Regions from separate parts of the Homo sapiens genome. Here region 1 is linked to region 2. Evidence: promoter capture Hi-C in human tissues and cell types (Jung and others, 2019). All regions are on one chromosome and are shown on one strand. Each heading gives the region's core, a stretch centred on a gene start or on the middle of the fragment in contact. The rest is flanking DNA. Distances are from core to core; before and after follow the strand shown. Region 1 has its middle 100 kb from the start of RHOU. Region 2 holds the start of RAB4A (RAB4A, member RAS oncogene family).

Region 1 (6,379 bases), core at 2,320-4,819, 430 kb before region 2:
TGGAAAGCCTGTTAAAATATTGTTTTATTTCCCTGCAGCTCGTAAGCTCATGGAGCCCTGCGAGGCATTTTCACATATAGTGCTTCTTGGCCAATGTGTTTCAGAACATAGCAGCTGACGGGGTGAGAGGCAGCTGCCTTTCCTGAGTGAATCTTTGCCAGAGAGTGTTTGAAGAAATATCTTTAGGTAGACAAAAGGCTGCCACATAACGTGAGCAGGCTCAGGGGACACTCCTTGGGTCAGAAGTTGGTGCTGCGGGCTTGGTCAAGGTGTGGCAGCCACTCAGCCCTGACCGTGCTGTCTGTGCCTATGGAGTCTTTGATAGACTGGAGCTGGGCAGACCAGAAGGTAAGCACAGCCACAGTGAAGGAAAGCTGTGAGAAGCCAGCTGGTGGGAGCTTCTGGGAGTATGGTCATGTACTTTAAGACAGTGCCATGAAATATGGGCCACGTGGTTATTCTGAAGGCTTGATCCACGCTTCAAACATGACAGTTGACTCTTCCTTCAGCCAGTAGCTATTGTCTCTGTTTCATTTCGCTTTTACCGTATTATCTTAGTTCATTCTGCTTTGCTATAAAGGAATACCTGAAGCTGGGAAATTTATACAGAAGAGAGGTTTCTTTGGCTCATGGTTCTGCAGGCTGTACAAGCATGGCACCAGCATCTGCTCAGCTTCTGGTGAGGTGTCAGGAAGCTTCCCATCATGGTGGAAGGCAAGGGAATGTCACATAGTGAGAGAAGGAGCAAGAAAGAGAGGGAGGAGGTGTCAGGATCTTCTAAACAACTAGATCTTGCGAGAGCCCATACAGTGATAACTCATTAAGTACTATGAGGATAGCACCAAGACAGTAATGAGGGGTCTACTTCCATGACCTAAACACCTCCCACTAGGCCCACCTTTAACATTAGAGGTCACATTTCGCATGAGATTTGGAGAGGACAAAACATCCAAACCATATCACTTGTTATGAAGACTGTAGGGTGGAGTTGGTAGGTGGTTGGACAGCGTGCGGGATCTATGACCATTTTGGGTAATATCCCAGGTTATGGTCTCCAGGTTTTACTGAATTTGCTGGAAAAAATTATGCCTTTCATAAACTAATATTAGTGAATACCTACCTCACGCTCTGTTTTTTTCTTTTAAGAGATGGGGTCTTACTATGTTGCCCAGGCTGAAGTATAGTGGCTGCTCAGAGGCATGATCATCTCACACTACAGCCTTGAACTCCTGGGCTCAAGCGATCCCCCACCTCAGCCTCCCAAGTAGCTGGGACTATAGGCTCCTGCCACCAAGCCCGGGTCCTCTCTATTTTCTTGTAGCATGTTATGTGTCTATTTCTAACATGTTAAGCTGATTAAAAAGACCACAAAACAATGAGGCCAAAATTCTGTAAGTTTTGTGTCATTAATATTTTTTCTAAATAAAACCCACTCAAGTCTTGTTATTTTCTGAGTTTTCATTTCCAGCCTCTCTTATCCTCTAAGCCTTTCCTCATGTCATCTCAAAAATCTCTTCTTCCAATGCTACTCTGACTGTATCATTGCTTGGTTGCTGATTGCCTATCATAATTAGCCAGATTTGTCAGCATGAATGAATGCTCATGTCAGTGTCAGAACAGGCAATACACATTTGTTAAAGGGACAGATGTGTGAATGGGCGCTGATGTTCTGCATGGGTAAGTCCTTCCGCGTGGCTCACCCCTGTTTCTTTCCCACACTGCTGCAACAAGCCTGCCTACAGTTTCCTACCCTGGGATGCCTGCACTAGCATGCACACTGGAGGGCAAGCCTTTACTGACTGGAATGTCTGCACCTGACTATCTGTGCTAGTGGGATCAATGATGGATTCACCACCCGGCTAAGCTTTCCCTGAGTTACCTGGTTGACGATGTTCACTAATCCCATAGCCCCCAGGGCTTGAGAGTATCGTTCACAGCAGAGGAGTTTGCATTTCTTTATGTATGTAGTAACATATTATCTTTTATATGCACTTTACCTGCTTCTTCCTTAGAAGGTAGACTCCTCAGGGCCAGAAATACAGTCCTCTGTTTCTTTTATCCCTCCTCACAGCCTCTGCCAGTGCTCTGCAGCTCAAAGGTCCCTGATAAGCAGAGTGACTTCAGCATTGTAATGAACCAGAGCACAGAGAGAGGCTGTGCAAGCAAAGGGTAGGAGCAGCCCTAGAAGAAGGCACACATTCATTCCTCGGGTTGCAGCCTGTTTACAGAGGGAGAGAATCTCTGCTGCAGTTACCCAGCATCCAGGGGTCCATGCTCTGCCAGCGTCACTCAGCCACGTGAGATGGGGTGATTGGACCAAAGGAGATACATGGTGTTTTATTTAGTGATGGTGGGGCCATTTCTGTTTTTATTTGTTTTTAACTGGGGTATGTGTGTCAGGACCACACAGCAGCAGGGAGAAGCTTCCACCTGCTTGGAACAAAAATGGGAAGGCTGCATTTCCAGGCTGCATTTATCTTATGTGTAGTGTAAGCAGCATCGCTGACTGGGAAAGAAAAAAGGGTAAAGAGCATTATAGATGCCTGATAATTCAGTCCTTAAGAGATGGCTCACTCAATTGCTTGGTTTTGTATTTTCATTTCTTTTCCTGACTGAAAATGGATCTGGAGCCTGAGAGCACCTGATGTTGGGCGAGGCCTCTGGGTACGAGGTGGAAGTTCACATTTCTGGATTATGTGTAGTTTCAGAATGCCTTCTATCTCGGTGTCAGGATAGATGTTAAGATGCAGGAATTCTCATAAATCTTCTCGTTAAAAAGAAGAAAACAACAAAACTTCTCACAGAACATAAAAACCATGTCAGGTGGCCGGGCGTGGTGGCTCATGCCTGTAAACTCAGCACTTTGGAAGTCCAAGGTGGGTGGATCACGAGGTCAGGTATTTGAGACCAGCCTGGGCAACATGTGAAATCCCGTCCCTACTAAAAATACAAAAATTAGCGGGGAGTTGTGGCACACTCCTGTAATCCCAGCTACTCAGGAGGCTGAGGCAGGAGAATCGCTTGAACCCAGGAGGCAGAGGTTGCAGTGAGCCAAGATCATGCCATTGCACTCCAGTCTGGGCGACAGAGCAAGACTGTCTCAAAAAAAACCCCAAAAAAACAAAAAAAACCCATGTCAGGTTGCTCCCCTGAGCAAGGCCAAGCTCAGTTTTCACCTGGTGGTCCCATGGGGAGCTTCCTGTGGCTTAGTGTTTGCGTCTGCCATTTGCTATCCCTCCCCAGCACACCTTCCTGTGGATGGAACTTGCCAGAACTTCCTCAGCAACCCTGAAGAGGAAAGCTGGAGGCCCCAACAGACGCAGAAGTGGGCTGCACTGCTGTGCTTCCATGGGGCAGTCAGGGCTCAGGGCCCCAGCAGCAGGCCAAACCCCAGCCCAGCTCCCTTGCAAACCTCCTCTGTCATGTACCCTGGGAGTCAGGTCCAACCCCACTATGTCACAACTGAGGAAACAGAGGCCCCGAGAAGTTCAGGGAGAGCTGGGGTCAAGATGCTAGATCCTGCCTCTGGGTGTGGTGGCTTTTGTTCTTGTCATCCGGTGGGCACTGGGCCTGCCCCGCACAGCTCCTTCACCCCGGAGAGGTGACAGCAGACTACATTAGGCCCTGCCAGGCCCAAAGACTCCAGCCTGTTAATCTTTAACCAGAGCTCTGGACAAAGGTAGCCCTTCTGACCTCCTGAGAGTTTCTGAATAGCTCGGAGGCTTCTGTGACAGAGCCACACGTTAGCAATGACATATATTTAGTGCAGGGAGGCATGTTGAGTACAGTTCTAAATTCTGTTGTGAATTGTGCCCAGGGAACAAGCACAGAGAACATTTTCACCATGGATATGTATGTACTTGTAAGAAGCAGCTGGGTGGTTCCTTCAGCAATCTGCTGAGCTGTGGCGATTACATCACACACTGGTGCAAAGGCCTTGAACCATTAATGTGCTGCCTCTGCGAGGGTGACCAGGATTCCAGCAATGAACAGAGAAGGTGCTTGTCCCCACTGCTCACTGGGTGCCTTCAGATTCTTAACTTTTGTCTTTTTCTTTTTTCTTTCACTTCTTACCTGTATCTATAAAACAGGACTCTGTTTGCTTTGAAAAGAGCCAGAATGACCTCAGGGGTCAGTGACTCATGCTGTTGGCTCTGTGAACACAATCGAGTGCCCCTTACGTAAGAAGCTCCTGCTATCTGAGGGAAGGGAGGTCCGAGCCATTATTCCTTGGTTATAAACACTCCATGTGGTTTTGTTTGGTGGTTTTAAAAAAGGTGTGTCCACAGGGTTGGTGTTCTAGAATCGTGGGCAGAAAGAAGTCTAGCTCCTTTCATCCAAGGTTCTAAAGGGTTCTCTGAGCTGTAACTCAGCTCTAACTGGACAAAGAGGCAACAATTCCCCTCATTTCCTGTGCGCTGTCACCACAGGAGGCTACACTTAAGGAGGTCAACTCAAGTTGTTTGGACCAAGCTTCCGCAGTTGTTCCCATTATCCTGTTTGAATCCATTCACTCTTACACTGGCCATGCAAATAGACACTCCCCAAGGAAAGAAGGACCTTAGAAAATAAGTGATCTCAGTTTTCATCTGACTTTCTTCTGGGGTGTGGGGCTGGTCATGGGTCTATATTCCCTGCTGTGGTCAGGGCCCTGTGGGACATGTGGCTGTGTCCCAGCCCTCTAGCACAATCTGCCGTCACTCCTGGGCTTTTGTATGCCTGCTCCCATTTGCTCTTATCTCCTCAACAACCACGTCAGGTAGATAATACATACCATCAGTCCCAGTTTACAGATGAAAAAAGTGAGGCACAGGGAGCTTCAGTAACTTGATCAAGACTAGAATTCAGAGAAATAGCCAAACCATGACTCATGATCCTCTTGCTCCAAAGTGCGTTGTCTCCCCCACAGCCCACTATATTTGTTGTTTATTTTTGAAAATGGTCATGAACTCAGCTAAGACGCTGGGGCAGTGGAGCGGAGGGAGAGAGCCTGCTCTTCACAGAGGGCTTATGGGGTGAGAGGAAGGGAAGCTAAGTACAGGGCAGGCCGGGGCCATCTAAGGTGGCCTCTGACCATCCTGGAGAGGCATGGGGCTAGAGAATGAAGAATGAGGCAGAAATGAGCGTTTTTGAACTGGTTTACCGAGCAAGAACTAGAATGGAAGGGGACATATTACAAATGACAAATGCCTGATCCAAAGCCCATGAGATGCTATTGATGAGGGCCACGGACCCTTACTCTGTGCAGACACAGAGGCTTGGATGCACACACTTGCATACACACACACACACACACACGCACTGTTTTGTTTTGCTCTGCTTTATTTTTGCCACTGTGGAATAATAAGAAGTACAGTCACGCATTGCTTAATGATGGGGATGCAGTCTGAGAAATGCATCAGGTGATTTCATTGTTGTTTGAACGTCATAGAGAGTACTTACACAAACCTAGACGGTATAACCTACTACATACCTATACTATATGGGATAACCTATTGCTCCTGTACCAAATACTGTAGGCAATCGTAACACAGTGGTATTTGTGAATCTAAACATATCTAAACACAGAAAAGGTACCATAAAAATGTGGTTAGAAAAGATGAAAAATGGGGCTGGGCGTGGTGGCTCACGCCTGTAATCCCAGCACTTGGGAGGCCAAGGTGGGCGGATCACTTGTGGTCAGCAGTTTGAGACCAGCCTGGCCAACATGGTGCAACCCCATCTCTACTAAAAGTAGAAAAATTAGCTGGGTGTGGTGGTGTGTGTCTGTAATCCCAGCTAGTCGGGAGGCTGAGGCAGGAGAATCATTTGAACCTGGGAGGTGGAGGTTGCAGTGAGCCGAGATTGTGCCACTGCACCACTGCACTCCAGCCTGGGCCACAGAGCGAGACTCTGTCTGAAAAAAAAAAAAATTAAAAAAAAGATGAAAAAAGGTACACGGTCTAGGGTAGTTACCGTGAATGGAGCCTGTGGGACTGGAAGTTGCCCTGAGTGAGCCAGTGAGTGAGCGGTGAATGAATGGAAAGGCCTGGGATGTTACATTACTGTACACTAAATTTATTTTAGCTACACTAAATTTATTAAAAAATAAAGTAATTGCACTATGACATTATGACAACCATGGCATGCATCGCTAAGGGATAGGTATTTTTCAGATTCATTGTAATCTTTTGAGATCACCATCATATGTATGGCCCATCCTTGGCTAAAATGCCATTATTTAGCATATGACTGTACACATATTGGTCTCTGCCCTCAGTTCCTGACACAGAGCTCTTAAAATCCTTGGAGTTTCTTGAGAGATAGGAGTGCTAGTAGCATCTTTTGTTCTAATCGGGCAACTCTGGCTGGGCTCCTAGATAGCCTCGGGATGGGAGTT
Region 2 (6,222 bases), core at 1,935-4,434:
AAAAAATAAAATAAAATAAATACATACGTATGTGCAGTTATGCCTATACTTCAATAAAATTGTTTCAAATAAAAGCACGATGAGCTGCCTGGACAGGTGAAAATTCCAGTGGTAGTCATAATGTCTTTCCATAGACTTTCTCTTCTCCTTTCTTTCAGGGACATAACAATATTGCATTTCCTGTCCTCTTTGAAATTAAGTGTTGCCACATGACTTGCTTTGGCCCATGAAATGTAAATAGAAGTTCTTATAGCAATTCCTGGTAAGTGCTTCTCTAACTAATGCACAATCAGTCCTAATGCATAGCCACTCCTACCTGAGTGATTGTGGAGATGCATTTAGATAAAACACACTCGGTCAGCCTGGGTCTAGGAGGGCCCATGAGCAAGTCTCTGCTCGTGGGAGTGGACAGGTAGTCTGAGCGAGGAACTTTGCTGCGTAAGTCATAAATGGGTTGAGAGATCTGCATTACTGCAGTTAATCTAGCCCATTCTGACTGAATATTCCCTAGCAACAGAGGTATCTGATCATGGACATAGTTTTGACAGTGGAAGGTAAAGTGGCCCAGTGACCTCTGAGGTGTCTACTTTCTTGAAGATGTGAGTTATATGTCATAGTCTCCACCAGCCTGGGTGTGGAATTGAGCTTCCATTTTCAAGTCTCCACTTGTATGTCTGGAATTTGGCTCCTTCTCAAGGTAACACCCAGGGATTGCTGAGTTCCCAAGTGCTCAGACACAAGTCCACTCATTTTCTTCAATTCCAGTTACCAAAGAAAGTCACCATTCCACCGAGGCTGTGACCAGTGCCCTCCACCAGGCCTAGCTCCAAGAATCTCATGCATCAAGCCCCAGGGCTCCTCACGTTGGGCATTAAATGTAAGGTCATGCCACATTCTTTAACATTGTCAGGAAGCAGGAAGGAAAGTACCAGATACTTGAAGGACCCACTGACCTGGAAAAAAGTGGGATCTAGTTTCAGCTTGAAAAAATCCTTCTTCATAATTACATTTCCCTTAGGCAAATCTCTAACATGCCTAGGCTTTTGTATATCTGTTTTTACTGCGTCACAAACCTCCCCCAAAGAGAAGGGAGACGATAACTGGAGAAAACCACAAATTAATCTTCCAATATTTTTTTCTTCCATATAATCAGCAGTGCCTCAGAATCAAAGCAGTCTCTAAAAATATTTTGAAGAAATTTATTTTCTTGGATCTTCAAAGATCCAAAGTTACTGAGATGCAAAGAATCTTCCACAGTATCATCCAAGGATACTGAAGGGCTCCTTCAAACCTCGCCCTTGTATATTTCTTCTTCCAGTTGTGATACTGCAGTTACATTTGCAAACCAAATGATCCCTTTGGGTGGTTTTTCCAAAACAAATCGTCTTTCCCAAAGGCCTACCTAAGTCTTCATTTTCCACAAAGTAGAAAACTGCCCACAGCTTTGAAATGGCAGCATAATTTGTATTTCTACCACCTTGTCCAGGTTTCAGGGATCTCTGGTCCAGTTTCAGTCAATAATGCTAACTATCACTGCAGCTCACTGACTTCTTTCTTGTACATAGCAGTTTTTCGCAGGAAGAAAACAAATCTAACGAATAGGAATAACTTCAGGTGATGCTGTTTTCTTCCCGCTTCCTGGGATCACTGTCTTTCCTCTGAAATGGTTTTAATCAGAACCAATCTGTTATACTCAGGAGCCTAAATCAAACACGACATGCAGAGAGACAAACAAGAAAGCAACAAATGATCTGAGCCACTGAACAAGAAATATATATAAAACAGTTTTAGGAATTACAGCTGTCACAACTTTTCACCATGGGGCCTTCTCTGTGATTTAGAAAAAACTGCATTTATTTGTTATTAGGATCGGAGACAAGAGAAAAATACCGACCCAAATAGCCACTGGGGAAGAGGGAAGCTCTGATGCCAATTTATGTGGAGGATGGAGCCAAACTGACTCACACACACACACACAAAAGTATGTACTGGCATTTTCCACACAGTCCAGGTCACTTGGGAGCTTAGCCAAGGATATTTTGAGCATTCGACTACCTATTGTGAACAAGGTTGGGAACTATGAGGCGCTATGTGGCCCTGATCAAGCTCAGATGGGCCAAATCCTCAACCAAAATTCTCTTTCCCATAAATGTTTATCTCTACATTTCCCACAGAAGGGGATTCTAACTCAGTTTTGCTTCTGAAACCAAACTATCCAAGGCCAGGTGAGATGACTCATGCCTGTAATCCCAGCAATTTGGGAGGCCAAGGAGGGAGGATGCTTGAACTCAGGAGTTCAAGACCAGCCTGGGCAACATAACAAGACCCCATCTCTACAAAAAATTTAAAAATTGGCGCGGTGTGGTCGTGTGAGCCCCTAGCCCCAGCTACTCAGGAGGCTGAGGCAGGAGAATCGGTTGGGCTGGGCTGACAGTGCCAGACCCTGTTAAAAAATAAAAATTAAAAAAACTCCTAAATTTGGAAACACATCCCCAGCTGAGGGCCGGGAGATACTTCTCAACCGTAATCCAGAACCCTCTAAAATGGGATGTGGAGAGGCTGCAGCCTGTAGTCTTGCGATGACCTTTTAGCACCTGGGCATCTTGCGCTTCTGTCATTCCGCCCACACCCGCTCAGCTCCATCCAAGAGGGCCCGGCAGTTTGGAGTGAAAGCTTAGCTTCCCAACGGGTAAATGAACCTGCCTCCCATTCACAGGGCGGCCTCTGGCTGGACACCTGGGGCCTACTGCCTCCTTGTTACACATTAACCAAGTTCTGGCCTCCATCGTAACAGCGTCAGGGAAGTTTTTTCCTGGCTGACAGCCGCAGATGATGACCGAAGACAACGTCTTAACTGAGACGGGCCAATTTGGCAAATGGACTGCTTTCCTCCCCAGTGCGGGCACCTTCCTCCTCTGTCCGGCAACTGGACCCCACTGTCCCCAGCCCTCTGTCACCCCCAAACCTGCCCACCGCCCGCCTCTACCCGACCCTCCCTCAGGGAAATCGGGACTCAGCCCCCAACGCCCCCACCTGCCGCTCTGCCCACCTCAGCGCACACCGCCAGAGCGCCCAGCCCGCGCACGTGCTTCCGGCGCGCGCCGAAGTCCTCACGCGCCCCGCCCCGGCCTCCCCGTGCGCACGCGCGAACGCGGGGTGGGCCGGGCCTCGCGTAGCCCATCTCCTCTTCCTCCTCGCGGTCGCGGCCGGACGGAGGGTGGAGGGCCCTGCGCCTGCGCGGAGCTGGAGTCCGGCTGGGCCGCAGCCGCTGGGAGACCGGCGGTTGCCGTGGGGACCGGTCGGGCCCCTCCCTCCTCCGGTCCCCCGCCCCAGGTCCTTCCCCACCGAGACGCGCCGGCGGACCGCGGGCGAGTGCAGCCGGTGACCCGGCGAGAGGCGGCGCCGCTCCCAAGATGTCGCAGACGGCCATGTCCGAAACCTACGGTACGAGGCCCGGGCTGGCGGGGCGCGCGGGTCGGGCCGCGGGGGGCGTCGGTGGCGCGGGGCCGGGCCTGGGCTGCGGGGGTCTTGAGGGTGGCGGTGGCGCCGGCCGGAGCCGGGGGACGGATCTCGGAGGTGTCTGGGCTTGGGACCGGGATGGGGGACGCGGGCCGCTGGGGGCTCGGGTGGGGTAGCGGGTGCGCGGGGCGCGGGGGCGCTGTGCACAGCGCATTGGCGTGATCCGCCTTTTCAAGTTTCCTCTTGCTCTTTCTCTGCTCTTGCACTCTTAGCGCTTTTCCCCTCTCAGTCTAATGTAAATAACTGAAGGTTTGAAAAGCCAGCTTGATGTTCGGTTTCAGCTGCGATATTATCCCCAGCGAGCCTGTGAAGGGCTTAGGGCGACGCCTGTGTTCCTCAAATACTTCAGTTTGACCTTTCCTGGTTTGGAATTCCTTGCTTTACATTGGGATTACAGTGAGGAGTTATTAATAGGCTAATTCATTCATCTCTTCCTCCGGAGACCTCTTGCTTCGTTTATTTCTCCCTCCCTCTCAGTGTTTTTTAGCCTTTTCTGGGTTGCATTTTGGCTATTTATAAACATGTCTTGTCTCCTTCTTAAGACCGTAAGCACCTTGGAAGCAAAGCCCTGGCTGTTTAATCTTTGTTTCCCCTGCAGCACCCAGACCTGGAGGTGCTTGACAAATACTGTTTTGAATAAGCGAAAGCTTTCCCAGTGCATATGCTGTGTGCTTTTTTTTTTTTCTCCCCTTTTTTGGCCTTGCGTGGTAAGAATAAACAACTTGTACTTTGTATCAGAGTTGAATATTAATAGATGTTTACCAGTCCCTAATCACTCTTTCAGATGTATGTATTCTCAGATTAAGACTTTGATTTGGAGTTTTACAGTCCCAGAGAGAGGCTCAAGTTCAAAATTACATACCTCAAGCCAAATTAGTCCTGTCTCCATCTGTCCTGGCATGCTGCTTCCTTCTCTGCAACAAATACTGTGGAATGGCATTAGGGAAGCGAGCACCGTGCTGGGAGGGCTGTACATCCTGCAGAAACACAGCAGACACGGCTCTGGTCTCATGGAGCGTAGTCTATTGAGGGAATGCAGTATTAATCCAATTGTGATACTAATGAGTGAATAATTAAAAACCAGGCAAGAGTTCTGAAGGAGTGTGGTCCGTGAAAGTGTGTTAGAAAGAAAGATGACCCAGACAGGGGTGTCAGGGAGGCATTAACCAGGCAGCACGCAGAACATCTCAGGCCTGTGGGAAGGGTAACTCAAGAAGGGTGTGTTTTGAGTACCACGCTGGAGAGGTGGATGAGGAGGCAGAGAGGAGAGGGTCTTGAGGAAGGCGTCAGTTTGTCTTGTAAGAAAAAATGGGAACTTTTGGAAGGGCTTCCATGCTGGGGTCACAGTGCATTTGGTCCACCTTCAGTGAGTGACTCCTGTGACTGGTACTGCCCTGTTCTTGGTGACAAAGGGGCATGACATCTGTTCCTAGAAGGCGTAGGAAATCCTCCAGTAAGTCGATGCCTTCATCAGGACAAGTGTTTGCAAATGTTTCTGCAAATGGCAGTGGTCTGGTTCTTCCTGTAGAGAACCACAGTCAGAAATGTTGTAAGGAAAACATGGTCTTTAGCAATTTTTGGTTACATCTTTGCACTTCTTTATTTTCAAGTGCTCTTTAGCCCAGGCTTAGTTTCTTTAACCTGAGTAAGGAGCACGGAGCACTAGGGGAAGGGTGGAATGTCCAAATAAGAAAAGCAAGTGGGGGTCATGAATCAGTAAGAAAGGATTGGAAGAGTTCAGGAGATAGAGCTTTTATGTTTCATTTTTCGTATACGCATGATAACAACTGATAAAATAGAGCTTATCTTTGGCATCTCCACTTCAGACACAGTTAACTGAACTTTTGAGCTTCACAGATTGATTACATTCTGATCATAAGGCTTTGACCATTAGTATTCTTATTTCATGGTAACTTCCAAGTATGTTTTTACTTTGCAACTCTGAATTGAATCTTTTCTTCTAATAGAGGAAATTAATCGAAAACTAGTAGAAACTAATAAATAGAAAATGAGGCCAGAGGTGATGGCTCACGCCTGTAATCCCAGCACTTTGGAAGGCCGAGTTGGGCGGATCACTTGAGCTCAGGAGTTCAATACCAGCCTGGCCAACATGGCGAAACCCCAGCCCTATTAAAAATACAAAAAATTACCTGGGCATGGTGGTACGCTTGTAGTCCCGGCTACTTGGGAGGCTGAGGCATGAGAATTGCTTGAACCCAGGAGGTGAAGTTTACAGTGAGCCAAGATTGTGCCACTGCACTCCATCCTGGGCAACAGAGTGAGACTCTGTCTCAAAAAAAGAAAATGAGTTTTAGAAGGAGCAAGCAGGACAGTTGAAGTTTGCCAAGCTGAAGTAAAAGTCACCTAGAACCAAGTCCTAGGCTGTCACTTTGACGTATCAGTGGCCATATTTATACAGCATTGTTCCTTAAAAGTGAAACAGTCAGGCTCTCTTCTGGACATTTGCCTCTGAGCTGGTGAAGGAATGTTTGCCTAACCTTTAAACTCCTTTGTACTCTGTGCTTATTTGCTCTTCTGTAAAAGGAGGCTCTGTGTAGCTTGACAGAGAGATGAGGAATGAAATGTACTGGGTTTTTGTTTCCCTTTTTTTTTTTTTTTTTTTTTGAGACAGGACCTCGCTCTGTCACCCATGCTGGAGTGCAGTGACACAATCACGGCTCACTGCCACCTCCATCTCCCCAT

What was found. The method cuts DNA at HindIII sites, captures the fragments that hold promoters and counts their contacts. A contact is called where the count stands out against the background at its distance.
Region 1: a contact is called between a fragment that was not itself captured here and the fragment with the promoter of RAB4A in region 2, in 3 of the 25 tissues and cell types used here (dorsolateral prefrontal cortex, hippocampus and spleen).

Annotation. Positions count from the first base shown.
Region 1 is chr1:228,834,478-228,840,856 of GRCh38, forward strand. No RefSeq gene overlaps it. Among named protein-coding and RNA genes, the nearest start is that of RHOU, 100 kb to the left of the region's middle. The HindIII fragment of the contact is 4,581 bases long and covers 1,280-5,860 here.
Region 2 is chr1:229,267,927-229,274,148 of GRCh38, forward strand. It overlaps RAB4A (RAB4A, member RAS oncogene family), which reads left to right and starts at 3,185. Exons shown (of 8, transcript NM_004578.4): 1 at 3,185-3,444. The coding sequence starts at 3,414. RAB4A-AS1 (RAB4A antisense RNA 1) reads right to left here and starts at 3,228. Exons shown (of 2, transcript NR_149313.1): 1 at 3,050-3,228. RefSeq lists silencers at 2,997-3,526, 3,567-3,726. The HindIII fragment of the contact is 8,116 bases long and covers 1-5,851 here.